Regions from separate parts of the Homo sapiens genome. Here all the other regions are linked to region 2. Evidence: promoter capture Hi-C in 16 types of primary human blood cells and fetal thymus (Javierre and others, 2016). All regions are on one chromosome and are shown on one strand. The core of a region is centred on a gene start or on the middle of the fragment in contact, and the rest is flanking DNA. Distances in the headings are between cores, read along the strand shown. Region 1 overlaps TMCC1 (transmembrane and coiled-coil domain family 1). Region 2 holds the start of EFCAB12 (EF-hand calcium binding domain 12). Region 3 overlaps TMCC1 (transmembrane and coiled-coil domain family 1).

Region 1 (4,785 bases), core at 2,073-4,572, 220 kb before region 2:
GGGATTGACTACTAGACTGTGTGTTTTATCAAAGTGTGTAAGAATAAAAACTCACTTGCACGAATTGAAACGTAAAGAAATGACACTTGTGAACGTGTGAACGTTAACACTGTAGTTGATAGATCTTAAGCTGCTAATTGTTGAGAGAGATTTAAATTTATGTTCTGTCTGGTCGCTGCAGATTCTCAGCAGCACTTTTACTGTATATAGAAATTGAAATAAAGACCTCAGCTATTAACCTGGTGGTCAGACTCATGTTTGTTTTGCTTTTTATTTTTGAAACATTTAACATATGTAGTTCTACATGCATGTAATGCATTATTATCCAGCCTAGTGCCACCTGTAGTTTTGTTATAAAAGTAGTAATTTCTATTAGGACTTTTTCCTGATGATCTCTGGGAGGCCTCTGGAAATCCTGAAGTCCTAAACTTGCCTTTGACCTGGTACCAAGCAGAGACATGATGATTCGGTCCTTCACAGCTCCAGTCTGAATGTCGAGAGCTTTAGTCCCACTTCTGGCTTGCTAGCTGTGTGCCTCTTACCCCATGTATAAACTAGTGATACCACACCACCCAACTTGATCCTACAGGTGGATGTTGTGAGAGCAAGGGATACATCTTGTGAAATCTTTGAAAATTCCCCTTAAAATATGGGCCAGGCTGCCATGTACAGATATGCAGGTTGTATATTGCCCAACCCTGCGGGGGCTTCATAAGTCTGATAAACTGTGAACAACATCCAGGAGTTGTGTAGTGCATACGGGACACATAGAGCTGCCATGATAATGGGCGATACATAATTTCAAAACCTGCTTTATTTTTATCCTTTAAAAACCTTGGAGACTTACTGAATGCCAGTAAAAACTGGGTGTGGTGGCTCTCACACCTGTAATCCCAAAACTTTGGGAGGACAAGGTTGGAGGATTACTTGAGGCCAGGAGTTTGATACCAACCTGGGCAACATAGTGAGACCCCTATCTCTACAAAAAATAAATTTAGCTAGGTGTGGTGGCAGGCACCTGTAGTCCCAGCTACTCAGGAGGCTGAGGTGATAGCATCACTCGAGCCCAGGAGTTTGAGATTACAGTGAGCTATGATTACACCACTGCACTCTAGGCTAGGTGGCAGAGCGAGACCCTGTCTCAAAAAAAGAAAACTTCAGAGAGTGGAAGGCAGATGACATAAATTTGAGAAGCTGTGGTGTAGAAAACAGATTGGGGAGGCAGAGGAAGGTATGGTCAACTAGAAATGCATGCTTCACCTGAAGGGTTCAAATATACTTAAATCCTATGGTCCAAACTAAACATTTAGCTGACTTGTAGCCCCAAGTCTATAGTGAAGAATAGCTAACGTTTATTGAGTATTTACTGAGTGCCAGACATCATTCAGTTTTATCAGTCAATTCTCCCCCACAGTCTTATGCAGGAGATATCCTCATTGTTTAGGTAAGAACTCTGAAGCTTGGGTTAAATGGCTTGCCCAAAATTAATGTTAGGAAATGGTAAATTAATGCAATGGAAAATAGGTCTATGCGACATATATAACAAAAAATGAGCGTCCACAATATTTAAGACTACAAATCAATAATCATCTTTCCTATTGGTAACAGCTCAATAGAAAAGACAGGCAATAGTTATAAACAGAGAGCTTATAGAAAAATGACCAATAAGCGGCTGGGCGCGGTGGCTCACGCCTGTAATCCCAGCACTTTGGGAGGCTGAGGCGGGTGGATCACGAGGTCAGGAGATCGAGACCATCCTGGCTAACATGGTGAAACCCCGTCTCTACTAAAAAGACAAAAAAATTAGCCGGGCATGGTGGTAGGCGCCTGTAGTCCCAGCTACTCGGGAGGCTGAGGCAGGAGAATGGCGTGAACCCAGGAAGCGGAGCTTGCAGTGAGCCGAGATGGTGTCGCTGCACTCCAGCAGCCAGGGCGACAGAGCGAGACTCTGTCTCAAAAAAAAAAAAAGAAAAGAAAAATGACCAATAAGCATACCAGAAAATTGTTCAGCCTCCTGTATAATCAGTGCATTAAGATTTAAAAAGCCAACTGTGGAACAATATATTGTCTCCCATTTATGTTGAGAATATGTATATTTGTGTAAATATATGCATGTGGATGTGTAAAAACTTTGCATTAAACTTTCCCGTTATTTTGGGAAGGGAGAGGGAGGAACAGTGGTTAAGCAGCACTTTCATGCTTGGCTTCTATAAAGTATGAATCTCTTTGAAGAAAATGTATTTGTGTATTTTTTAAATTAAATATATCAAAAACTTAAAAATAGGTCCAGTGAGAAGTGAAAAAAGAATTGATAGTGTTCCTAATGACAGATCATACTAGACCATCTTTTGCCTCCAGATTGCCTTAGAGGGGGCTCTAGACCAAGTTTGGGCCACCCCTTGAGCTTTCTTCCAGCCCTGGATTTCTAGGCTTGGGGGTCACATAGATGTCCCGCTGCCAGAAGCCCTGCGGGCTGAGAAGGAGGAGCACGTGCAGAGGTGACAGCAGCAGCTGGTACCTCCTATTTAGCCAGCAGCACTTAAGAGCCACTCTATACAAGACTGGGCTGTGGAAAAAGGAACTTAGTAGAATGAAATACATGTGGTAAAGAGGCAGAAGACGTGTGGGAGCAAAGAGGAGGAAGCAATTCTAACAGAGCAATAGGGAAAGGCTCAACGGAGGAGGCCATGGTATCTGGACTGAAAGATGGTGGCTTTATGATGAGCAGAAATAGGTGAGGGGGCATTTCTATTGGAGGTATTAGCAAAACCACAGAGGTGAAAACGGCCTAGGTGAGCAGTTCAAGCAATGGATAAGGAGCCTTAAGTGACTGGTAGGGTGCCTGAAAGAATGTGTGAGAATCATATGTGGGGGCCAAGTTGCAAGAAATCTTGAATACCACGCTAAAGGTTTACCTTGTGACTACAAGAGAAGCCATTACAGGTGTTGAAAGGTGACCCAGCCTTCTGTTTAATTACAGCCCTTTGAGAAGAAACCAGAAACCTGTTTTTCAGGTCATCCCAATCAGTTGGGTGTTTGAGGAATGGTGTCCAAGGTATTTGGTCTTTTGCCTATTGATCCTGTAAGTAGAGGCTCTTCACAGTTTTTTGATAAGTGGAAAAAGGGTGTAGGCAACTCAGAGTTCAGTTCTTTTAAAAAAAAAAAATCCCTGGGCCAGGCGCTGTGGCTCACGCCTGTAATCCCAGCACTTTGGGAGGCCGAGGCAGGCGGATCACGAGGTCAAGAGATGGAGACCATTCTGGCCAACATGGTGAAACCCCGTCACTACTAAAAGTACAAAAATTAGCTGGGCGTGGTGGCACTCACCTGTAGTCCCAGCTACTTGGGAGGCTGAGGCAGGAGAATTGCTTGAACCTGGGAGGCGGAGGTTGCAGTGAGCCGAGATCACGCCACTGCACTCCAGCCTAGCGACAGAGCAAGACTCCATCTCAAAAAAAAAAAAAAAATCCCTGTCACCTTTGGTATTACAATCCTTAAATCCCAGAGCAAGAGTACTTGACAAAATTTATTCATGCTTCTGTCTTACTGAATGTTTAAGCTGTTCAAGAGAATATTCTTTATCTGTTGAAAGAATTCAGTTCAATAGTTTTCGAGACTGTATTAAAAGGTGCAACAAATCATGATGAAAATGAATTATGTTAAATTTTGCCTAAAGCTGCTTCTGTACATATCTTAAGTTTGGCCTAAAGGTTTCTCCATACATAGGGAACTGTAACCTAGCCAGGCATAAGCAGATTGGAACCTACTCTTGTAACGAGTAGCCAAGTCTCCGCCAATCACAGCAGCCGAACTTCAGTCAACCACAGGCAGCCAACTGTTGAAATAAGGTACAAGCCCAGAATAAGTTTAACAAGAATAAGTGAGGTCTGCATACCTCACTTCAATTTTTTATACACCACTTGCCTTTTTCTGTCCATAAATGTTACTTAGCCATATGGCAGCCCCAGACTCTCACTGACCTGTCCTGGTCTTAGGGGCTGCCCAATTCATGAATCATTCTTTGTTAAATTTAACTTGTCTAAAGTTTTTATTTTAAGTATTTTATTTTATTTTATTTCATCTCATTTTATTTTGACAGAGTCTTGCTCTGTCGCCCAGGCTGGAGTGCAGTGGCACGATCTTGGCTCACTGCAACCTCCATCTCCCAGGTTCAAGTGATTCTCCTGCCTCAGCCTCCCAAGTAGCTGGGATTATAGGCCTGTGCCACCACACCGAGCTAATTTTTTGTATTTTTTAGTAGAGACGGGGTTTCACCATGTTGGCCAGGCTGGTCGCTGGTCTCGAACTCCTGACCTCAGGTGATCCACCCACCTCAGCCTCCCAAAGTGCTGGGATTATAGGCATGAACCACCGCGCCTGGCCTCTTTTAAGAATTTTAATAACCACTTTACCTTAACAGAAGGTTGTGAAGGTTATGAGGATTAAATGAAAATTGTACAGAGCCTAGCCCAGCATCTGGCAAGAGAAAGTGCTATACCATGATCTTGATTATTAGTAGACTGAGAATTCCTAGAGGACAGGCACCTGTGTCACTCATCTAACTCTCTTCAGAATATAGCACATCTCCCATTCTTACCAACGAAGAGCCCAGTAGCCAGAATTTGGGCTATCCTCAGCCAGCCCTGGCTCTTAAGTTGGTTTGGGGAACCAAAAAATCAGTATGTGTCAGAGAATGGGCTGGCCATGGGGACAAGAAAAGAATATCGTGTCCATAAGAACAAAAACTCGCAAATGGGGCCAGGCACAGTGGCTCACGCCTGTAAT
Region 2 (4,225 bases), core at 156-2,655:
GGGCACAAAGATAAACAAGTTCTGTACAGACCCTCACAGAGAGAAAGAAGGGCACCTAATAATGGAAGGGAACAAAAGCGGTAAGGAGTAGGGACAAGACACCCAAAGAGGGTGGAGAGGGGCCTCTGAAACCTTGGGCCCAGCTGGGCCTGGAGGGTGGGGCGAGCTCACCAAGCTCAGGGCATCAGGTGTGGCTTTGTGGTAGGGCTGGTGGTCACATACCTTCCCCCAGCATCTCCATGGGGAGTGTGGGCCCGTGTGAATGCAGGAGGCGAGCTCTGCACCAGGGGAGCTCAGGACACAGCCAGGTTGCTCAGGCTCTAGGCCTGGCTTTTCCTGTTTCTTGCAGGTGAGGTTGCCTGACCTCTGTACCTGTTAACTTGTCTTTTAAAAATGGGATAGTGGTGTCTACCTCACACAATGATGGTAATTATGAAGTTCAGACATGTAGTGCTAAAATGGTACCTGGCTTGCAAGAGTGCTGTGTGAATGTGGCCCATGGCAACAATCTGTTTGCAAGCGTCACAAAGATAGCTTGTCTCAGCAAAGGAATAAGGGCTTAGGTGTTTCTCTTTAACTTTTTAAAAATTGAGCTAAAAGCCACCATTTAACCATTTTAAAGTGTACAGTTCAGTGGTTTAGTACATTTACAGTGTGCAGCCATCATCACTAATTCCAGAAGTTTCCATTTCTTTTTTCCACTCCAAAAAGAATCTCTCCACCTGTTAGCAGTCACTTCAATTACTCACCCCATCCCCTAGCAACCATTCATCTACTTTCCGTGTCTGTGGGTTCGTCTATGCTGAACATTTCACATAAATGGAATCATACAGCACGTGGCCTTTTGTGTCTAGCTTCTTGCTTAGCATACTGTTTTGAAGGTTTATCCATATTGTAGCATGTACTTCATTCCTTCTTATGGCCATCCTATGGATATACCTCATTTTGCTTATCAGTTGATGCACATTTCAAGGGTTTATTATTATTCTCTGGTCCTCAGGTTCTGTAACTCCAAACCATGGCACCCTGCCATAAGCGGGGCAGAACATACCCAACACCTCTATCTGGCCACAGCTCACTTTGGTTCTTCCTAACCCTCTGGAGGAGGCAGGGCCTATTTTTCCTATGAGAAAACTGAGGCCTAGAGATATGGAGACCTGCGGAAGATCCCACATTTCACGGGAAAACCGGAGACTTTCTACACTGGATTCAGGGACTACTGGGCCGAACAAAGAAATCCCGCCTTTCACCAAGCCCAGAACTGGGCGGGGCGTGGATTTGCTCGCTGCCCCTCCCAGAATTGGACGAAAACGAGGTGGGGCCAGCAGGCGCTCGGCAGGGCGGGCTCGCTCTTAACACGTGACAGCGCTCAGCCAATTGGCGCGGGGCGTCCGTAGCCACGGCAACAGGTTGCTTCTGCAGTCTGAGCTGAGCGCCTTTCGCACGACTTGGAGTTACGGTTTATCTGATACCCCGGTACCCCTACGCAAGCAAGCCCACATCGACACACATTCACACACGCCCTTCAGCACCCCCTCCCAGCACCACGACCATGGACGACGACTATGAAGCGTACCACAGTCTGTTCTTGTCGCTGCTCGGTAAGCCCCGGGAAGAAGCGTCTGCAGGGAGCGCTCAGCGCCCTAAGGACGCGTGAAAGTGGGGTGAGGGCAAAAACTCAGCCACAGATATTGTGCCGACCCCCTCTGGGTGAAGGGTTGCCATGGAGTCGGGGGCAGGTCATGTACATTTCTGAGATTTCTATCTGAGCCTAGTTGGAGGAACCAGAGGCCCGACCCATGTGACGGGAGCCCTCCAGCTCGCCCTGTTTCTCTGCAGGACATTAATGTATTCAGTACTGGAGGAGAGGCATGGAGAAGACGTCAGTCTTCAAGGTTTTGGCAGTAATGTGCTGGGGACCAAGTTCTTGGCAAAGCAATGCAGCTTCACGGGTAAAGGACAGAGATAAATGGATAATTACAGAATAAGAAGGGGTAAATGCCGGGCCCAGGGATGACACCCAGGAGTAAAAGGTGTGCTGAGGGTATGGGATGGGGAGGAACAGTTCCAAGCTTTTGGAAAAGATCTTTACACTGGAGCTTAAAGGATAAAAAGGAGTTCTCCAAGCCAAAAGGGGAAGGAAAAGCATTTCGGGCAAGGAAACAGCATGACCCAAGAGGTCTGGTGTCTCTGGAAATGAGGTGAGAGAGGTCAGAAGGGACAAGATCATAAAAGATACTGCAAGCCAGGAGATGGAGAGGCCACTGGGAGTGGCAGGACTGGATTGGGAGCAGTCAGAAAAGACCTGAGACTGAGTTGGCAGACTCAGAATGTTGGTGTGGGGAGATGAGAGCTGGGGGCTATAAAGCTTGAAGACTGAAGGTCTTCTCCATGCCGCTTCTCCAGCACTGAACACATTAATGCCCAGTGGAGAAACAGGGAGAGCTGGAGAGGCTGGCCACCTTTCCCAGGCACACAGGTCAGGGCTCTGGTCAAATGCCCAAGCTAAAGATGCTGGGAGGTGAGGGAGAAGGCCCAGGCTAGAGGGAACTACGGGACTTGGGGGCTGGTTGGTCAGGAAACACAGAAGAGGCAAATAAAGATGGTTCTCAAGTTGGCAGCTGGGGGACCTGGTAGATGGAGATGTCTTCCACAGAGATAAGAGAACGTACTCAGAGGACCCAGTTAGTGGGGGAAGGGGCACAAAGACAAATCCAGTCTTGGTTGGTTGAGTTTAAGATCCTTGTCAGTAGCTGGGCACAGTATCTCACGCCTGTAATCCCAGCACTATGGGAAGCTGAGGCAGGAGGATTGCTTGAGCCCAGGAGTTTGAGAATAGCCTGGGCAACATAGTGAGATCCCATCTCTACAAAATTGTTTTTTAAAGTTAGCCAGGCCTGGTGGGGTGGCTCACGCCTGTAATCCCAGCACTTTAGGAGGCTGAGGTGGGTGGATCACGAGGTCAGGAGATCAAGACCATCCTGGCTAACACAATGAAACCCCGTCTCTACTAAAAATACAAAAAATTAGCCGGGCATGGTGGCAGGCGCCTGTAGTCACAGCTACTCAGGAGGCTGAGGCAGGAGAATGGCATGAACCAGGGAGGTGGAGCTTGCAGTGAGCCAAGATCATGCCATTGCACTCCAGCCTGGGTGACAGAGCAAGACACCATCTCAAAAAAAAAAAAAAAAAAAAGGTTAGCTAGGCTTAATGGCATGCACCTGTAGTCCCAGCTACTCAGGAGGCTGAGCTGGGAGGATCATTTGAGCCCAGGAGTTCAAGGCTGCAGTGAGCTATGATTGAGCCACTGTACTCCAGCTTGGGGAACAGAGCAAGACCCTGTCTCAATTAAAAATAAATAATAAAAAAAGATCCCCGGCCGGGCGCCGTGGCTCACGCCTGTAATCCTAGCACTTTGGGAGGCTGAGGTGGGCGGATCACCAGGTCAGGAGATCGAGACCATCCTGGCTAACACAGTGAAACCCCATCTCTACTAAAAATACAAAAAATTAGCCGGTCGTGGTGGCAGACACCTGTAGTCCCAGGTACTCGGGAGGCTGAGGCAGGAGAATGGCGTGAACCCGGGAGGCAGAGCTTGCAGAGAGCCGAGATCGTGCCACTGCACTTTAGCCTGGGAAACAGAGCAAGAGTCCGTCTCAAAAAAAAAAAAAAAAAAAAAAACAAAAAAAAACCCTGTAAGCCATCCAAGTGGAGATGTTTTAGGAACAACTGGAGGTATAAACTTGGAGCTAATTCCAAGTCAAAAATATTGGTATGGATGTCCCCAGCATACAGAAGGTCATAGAAACATGAGAATGGAAGGGATTATTTAAAAAGAGAAGAGACCCTGGGTATAAGCCTGGAAGCAACAACCTTTAAGGAGTAATCAGGAAAAGAGGGGCCCAAAAACAATAGCCGGAGAGGTAGAATTGGACATAGCAAGAGATTGAATCAAGCCAAGAGCAGGGAGAATTTCAAGAAAGAGTAGAATTGTTTCCAGACACCTATAGGCTGTCTGAGAAAAGAGAGAACAAGTGTGTTTTCTGGGACATCCATGGGGAGGACTAGAACCAAAGGGTAGAAAGTCCAGGGAAACAAATTCTGGGTCAATATAAGGAAATATTTTCTAGCAGTCAGAGTTTAGTGTCCACCATGTTAAGTAGAAAGTTCCACGTCACAGGAGATGTATAAACAGAGGCAAAGTCTGCCAGTGGCATTGAGGAGA
Region 3 (4,509 bases), core at 1,437-3,936, 230 kb before region 2:
AGTTTCTCCCTCTGTAAAAATGTAATGATATTTATTGTACATGGTTGTTGAAGTTATTAAAGGAGATAACATATATGGAAGTACCTAGTGTGATGTTTGGTTTAGAGTAGGAGCTCAACAAATGCTCCCTCCTCCTCCATTTTTTCTAGGGGAATACAAAGATCTGGGTTGTGCCAGAATGTTAGAAAGCTGTCATTACCAAGTCTGCAAGTTGCCCAGAAAGCCCCTCTAGTTTTTATTTATTTCCTGTATTATTTAGATATTTACTGTTTTCTTGTCATTAAGATAATTCATTGCCTACCCTTGAAATATTGTGGGGGACTGATATCTTTTTCCCTTTTCAGCTGAAGGCTAGTTCAGTGTTTTTTAGCTTCTTTTCAGGCTTCAACACAAAAAAGGTAACAAAAGGTAAGGAGAAAAAAATCCACTCTCCCCAATTCAGCTAGGAACCTATTCAAACTCCCACCGCAAGTCATACTCCCTACCCCAACTGTGTCTCTCTACTCTGGTCAAACACTGGCAGAAGCTATTTTGGGTCTCTGGTATGCATTTGGGAAATAGTCCATTCTTCTCCCATAGTTGCCTGTGGGTGTTTTTCCTGGGACCTAGTTCTTCCTGTTTCTCTCAATACCTGCTCCACAAGTTTCTTCAGCTATCCTGTGCTAGTGACCTATTGCCGAACTAGGGAAGCACCATTGGTTCTCAGAGATGGCTCCAAACTTTTGAGCCACACCCAAAGAGGAATGCTTCAGGTCAAAGCATTCCCAGGCTGTGTACTCACCCAGGCTCCCATTCATCAGTAATTTGACACAAAAGGCCCCTGGCTCATCTCTGATCTAGGAAGTTGACTACTGTGTTGACCTAGTGACCAAAACACTTTCAAGTTTAGTATTTATTTATGAATTATTTACCTACGACAAAATCTTGATGTGTTTAATACTTTGTAGATAGAACAGGTTTTGCTTCCAGTGGGGGATGAATTTCATCTACCAAAATATGATACTTGCTTTTAGAAAAAATAATCTTACAGTGCAAAGGCTTTCTGTTTGCTGATAGTTAAGCTCATGCCATATTTAAGTGTCCAGGTTCTCTTTGGGTTGTAACAATTTAGGAAGGACCTTGAGTAAAAATCCTTAAAATAAGATTATTAATCTCATGCTACTTGTAATCCAAGCGGAGGTGCGTGAACATCATTTGCCAGCCAAAATCACACATAGTCATGTGCTGAATAATGACATTTTGATCAACAACATATAAGACAGTTGTTTCATAAGTTTATAATGCTGTTTTTGTTTTGTTTTGTTTTTTTGAGATGGAGTCTCACTCTTGCCCAGGCTGGAGTGCAGTGGTACAGTCTCGGCTCACTGAAACCTCTGCCTCACGGTTTCAAGCAATTGTCGTGCCTCAGCTTCCAAGCAGCTGGGATTACAGGCATGCACTACCAAGCCTGTAATGCCATATTTTTAGTGTGCCTTTTCTATGTTTAGATATGTCTAGATACACAAACACTATTGTATTACAGCTGTCTGCAGTTGCCTATGGTACAGTAACTTGCTGTACAGCTTTGTAGCCTAGGAACAATTGACTGTACCATACAGCCTAAGTGTATCATAGGCTGTACTATCTAGATTTGTGTAAGTACACTGTATGGTGTTCACATAGTGATAAAATAACGTAACAACTCATTTCTCAAGATGTGTCCCCATCATTAAGTGAGGCATGACTGTTCTTGTATGATTAAGAACCTCCCACCCACCCACCATCTCCTCTGCCCCGATTTGTGTCTGGAGAGTTCTATTTAGCATCCTGTAAAGGGGTTAAAATTCCTTAAAGCAGAGTTCTAGGTTTAAAAAAAACCCAAGACTTTCACATATGAAAGTCTATAAAACATGTATCTTCCCTTTTTCTCCCCTACTGTTTGGCTTGGTGTTAATATTTAATGAGAAGATAGAGGTATTTGTACCTGGTTTCTCCATTTTAGAATTTAGACAGGAAGTAAACACTAGAAAATAAAGTGTGCTAAGAAGATTATAATATTAGTAATGGGGATAGTGGGAAGTCAGTGGGAACTAGAATACAGGTTTTTTTTTCCTTTCGTTATTTGCATTTCATTAACAATACAGAATTTTTTTGTCTTCTCTTTGAGACAAGGTCTTACTCTGTCACCCAGGCTGGAGTGCAGTGGCACAGTCTCAGCTCACTGCACCTCTGCCTTCCATGCTGAAGCAGTCCTCTCACCTCAGCCTCCCAAGTAGCTGGGATTACAGGCACATGCCACCACACCAACCTGATTTTTTTTGTATTTTTAGTAGAGACAGGGTTTCACCATGTTGCCCAAGCTGGTCTGAAACTCCTGGGGTCAAGCAATTTGCCCAGTCAAAAAGTTTTTAAAAAGACAATAATCTAATAACAGGCACAAGCCAATTGGTTCAGATCCTTATTAAACCTCACTACTAACTAGGGAGTCACTGCATCCTTCTGGGACTCCTGTTTTTGTTTGTGGGTTTTTCTGTTTGTTTGAGACAGGTTCTTGCTCTGTCACCCAGACTGGAGGGTAGTGACACAGTCTCGGCTCACTGCAGCCTTGACCTCTCGGGCTCAAGTGATCCTCCCACCTCAGCCTCCTGAGTAGCTGGGACTGCAGGTGCATGCCACTATGCCCAGCTAATTTTTGTATTTTTTGTAAAGACAGGGTTTTGCTATTTTGCCCAGATTGGTCTCCATGTTTGTCTGTTTCATCTGCTGAGATCATTCTACTTACCCAAATGCTGCTTTGCTATTTAGCTGCTTGCTAACAAAGCATTATCTCTGTGAACAATAGTTACATTTTCTTATTTGGGAAGACTCAGCTTGAGAAGAACTTGCTGTTAATTTCCCATGTAACTGTGAATAAATTGTTCAACCTCTAAAGGACTTTATTTTCTGTAAGAGCATGGTGAGGATTAGCAGTTTCTATATAACTCTTTTTGGAGATTTGAAAAAATTAGATAAAATTTACTTGAGCTGGGCACAATGGCACAGGTCTGTAGTCCCAGCTACTCAGGAGGCTGAGATGGGAGGATCACTTGAGCCCAGGAGTTTGAGGCTGCAGTGCACCATGATTATGCCTCTGAATAACCACTGTACTCCAGCATGGACAACATAGTGAGACTCTGTCTCTAAAATAAAAAAATAAAAATTACTTGAGACACCTTTCCTCACACACATACATAGGTAGATAGTTTCACCAGTACAAAGGAAAGTTTGGAAATGGCCAGTGCATGGAACTATTTGAATTATCTGGCAAACTTGAGCCAGGGAAATGGCAGGAACCTAGATGTATGAAATAAGAAGTAAAAGAGGCTTGTATCTAGGATTGAGGAGGATGGAGTGTGTGCCCAGTAAACCCATTTCTGTGATGTCATAGGAAAAACATCATAAATATACTGAAAACAGTGAAAATGTCAAAATATATAAAATTGGGAAAGTGGACATAAAGAAATGAAGACTTAAGGCCATGGACAGTGGCTCATGCCTGTAATCCCAGCACTTTGGGAGGCCAAGGCAGGAAGATCACTTCAATCCAGGAATTCAAGACCAGCCTGGGTAACATGGCGAAACCCCGTCTCTACAGAAAATACAAAAACAAAATTAACCGGGCGTGGTGGCACATGCCTGTAGTCCCAGCTGCTTGGGAGGCTGAGGTGGAAGGGTCACTAGAGCCTAGGAGATTGAGACCACAATGAGCCACGATCACGCCACTGCACTCCAACCTGGGCGACAGAGAAAACCCTGTCTCAAACAAACAACAACAACAAAGGCTTAGAGAAAAAAGTCAGAAGTGGGAATCAGTGAACAGTGGAGTAAGACTATGTGGCAGTCAACAAGCAATCTTTTTGAACTACCTCGCTAGGGATTGTTGGGGAGAACTAGGAGACTCACAAAAGAGAAAAATGAAACCAAATGTATATTTGTGATATATCTGTCTCACAGAGCACCTCTTGTGTGCCAGGTATTTGATGTCTGTCTTCTCCTTTAATCTTTGCAATTGCCCTTTGGAGTAGGTAGATTTCCTCTTTATAGAGGATGAAAAGGATCACCCAAGCTAGCGAGTTGCAGAGCTGGGATTTTAATCCAAAACCTGGACTGAGCACATGCATTAGCTGGTACAAACTGCATTATGAAAACATTTCTAGGTGCAAAATGGCAGGAGTGAAGATGGAGCACCTCTAGACATAATATGGGATGAACCAAAATCTAGTTTGAAAATGACTTCCAGAACCTTTGACAGGTTTGCAACCTTCTTATGATAAACATTGGTTTATTGTAAGGTTCAAAAGTGTTGGGAATAAGTGCTGAGGACTTTTGCAAGTATTCTCTGATTCATATATATTCCTCACCACCTCACATACCAAGTGAATCCCAATATTTCACACCTGATTTTACATAGTTCTTAAATTACCACTATTTTGTGTACCTCCTTGCCCCCCTTTATTGTTGTTAAAATCAATACGTTGTGAAGGCAAATAT

The links. Contacts are between HindIII fragments. The CHiCAGO score rates a contact against its expected background, and 5 or more counts as called.
Region 1: a contact is called between a fragment that was not itself captured here and the fragment with the promoter of EFCAB12 in region 2, in 1 of 17 cell types (M2 macrophages). The highest score is 6.5, in M2 macrophages.
Region 3: a contact is called between a fragment that was not itself captured here and the fragment with the promoter of EFCAB12 in region 2, in 1 of 17 cell types (M2 macrophages). The highest score is 6.0, in M2 macrophages.

Annotation. Positions count from the first base shown.
Region 1 is chr3:129,643,245-129,648,029 of GRCh38, reverse strand. TMCC1 (transmembrane and coiled-coil domain family 1) reads left to right here. Exons shown (of 7, transcript NM_001017395.5): 7 at 1-238. Among named protein-coding and RNA genes, the nearest start is that of PLXND1, 39 kb to the right of the region's middle. The HindIII fragment of the contact is 3,721 bases long and covers 1,462-4,785 here.
Region 2 is chr3:129,425,816-129,430,040 of GRCh38, reverse strand. It overlaps EFCAB12 (EF-hand calcium binding domain 12), which reads left to right and starts at 1,405. Exons shown (of 9, transcript NM_207307.3): 1 at 1,405-1,601. The coding sequence starts at 1,553. RefSeq lists a silencer at 1,219-1,268. The HindIII fragment of the contact is 3,479 bases long and covers 1-2,074 here.
Region 3 is chr3:129,659,436-129,663,944 of GRCh38, reverse strand. All of the region lies in intron 5 of TMCC1 (transmembrane and coiled-coil domain family 1), which reads left to right. Among named protein-coding and RNA genes, the nearest start is that of PLXND1, 55 kb to the right of the region's middle. The HindIII fragment of the contact is 6,636 bases long and covers 1-4,509 here.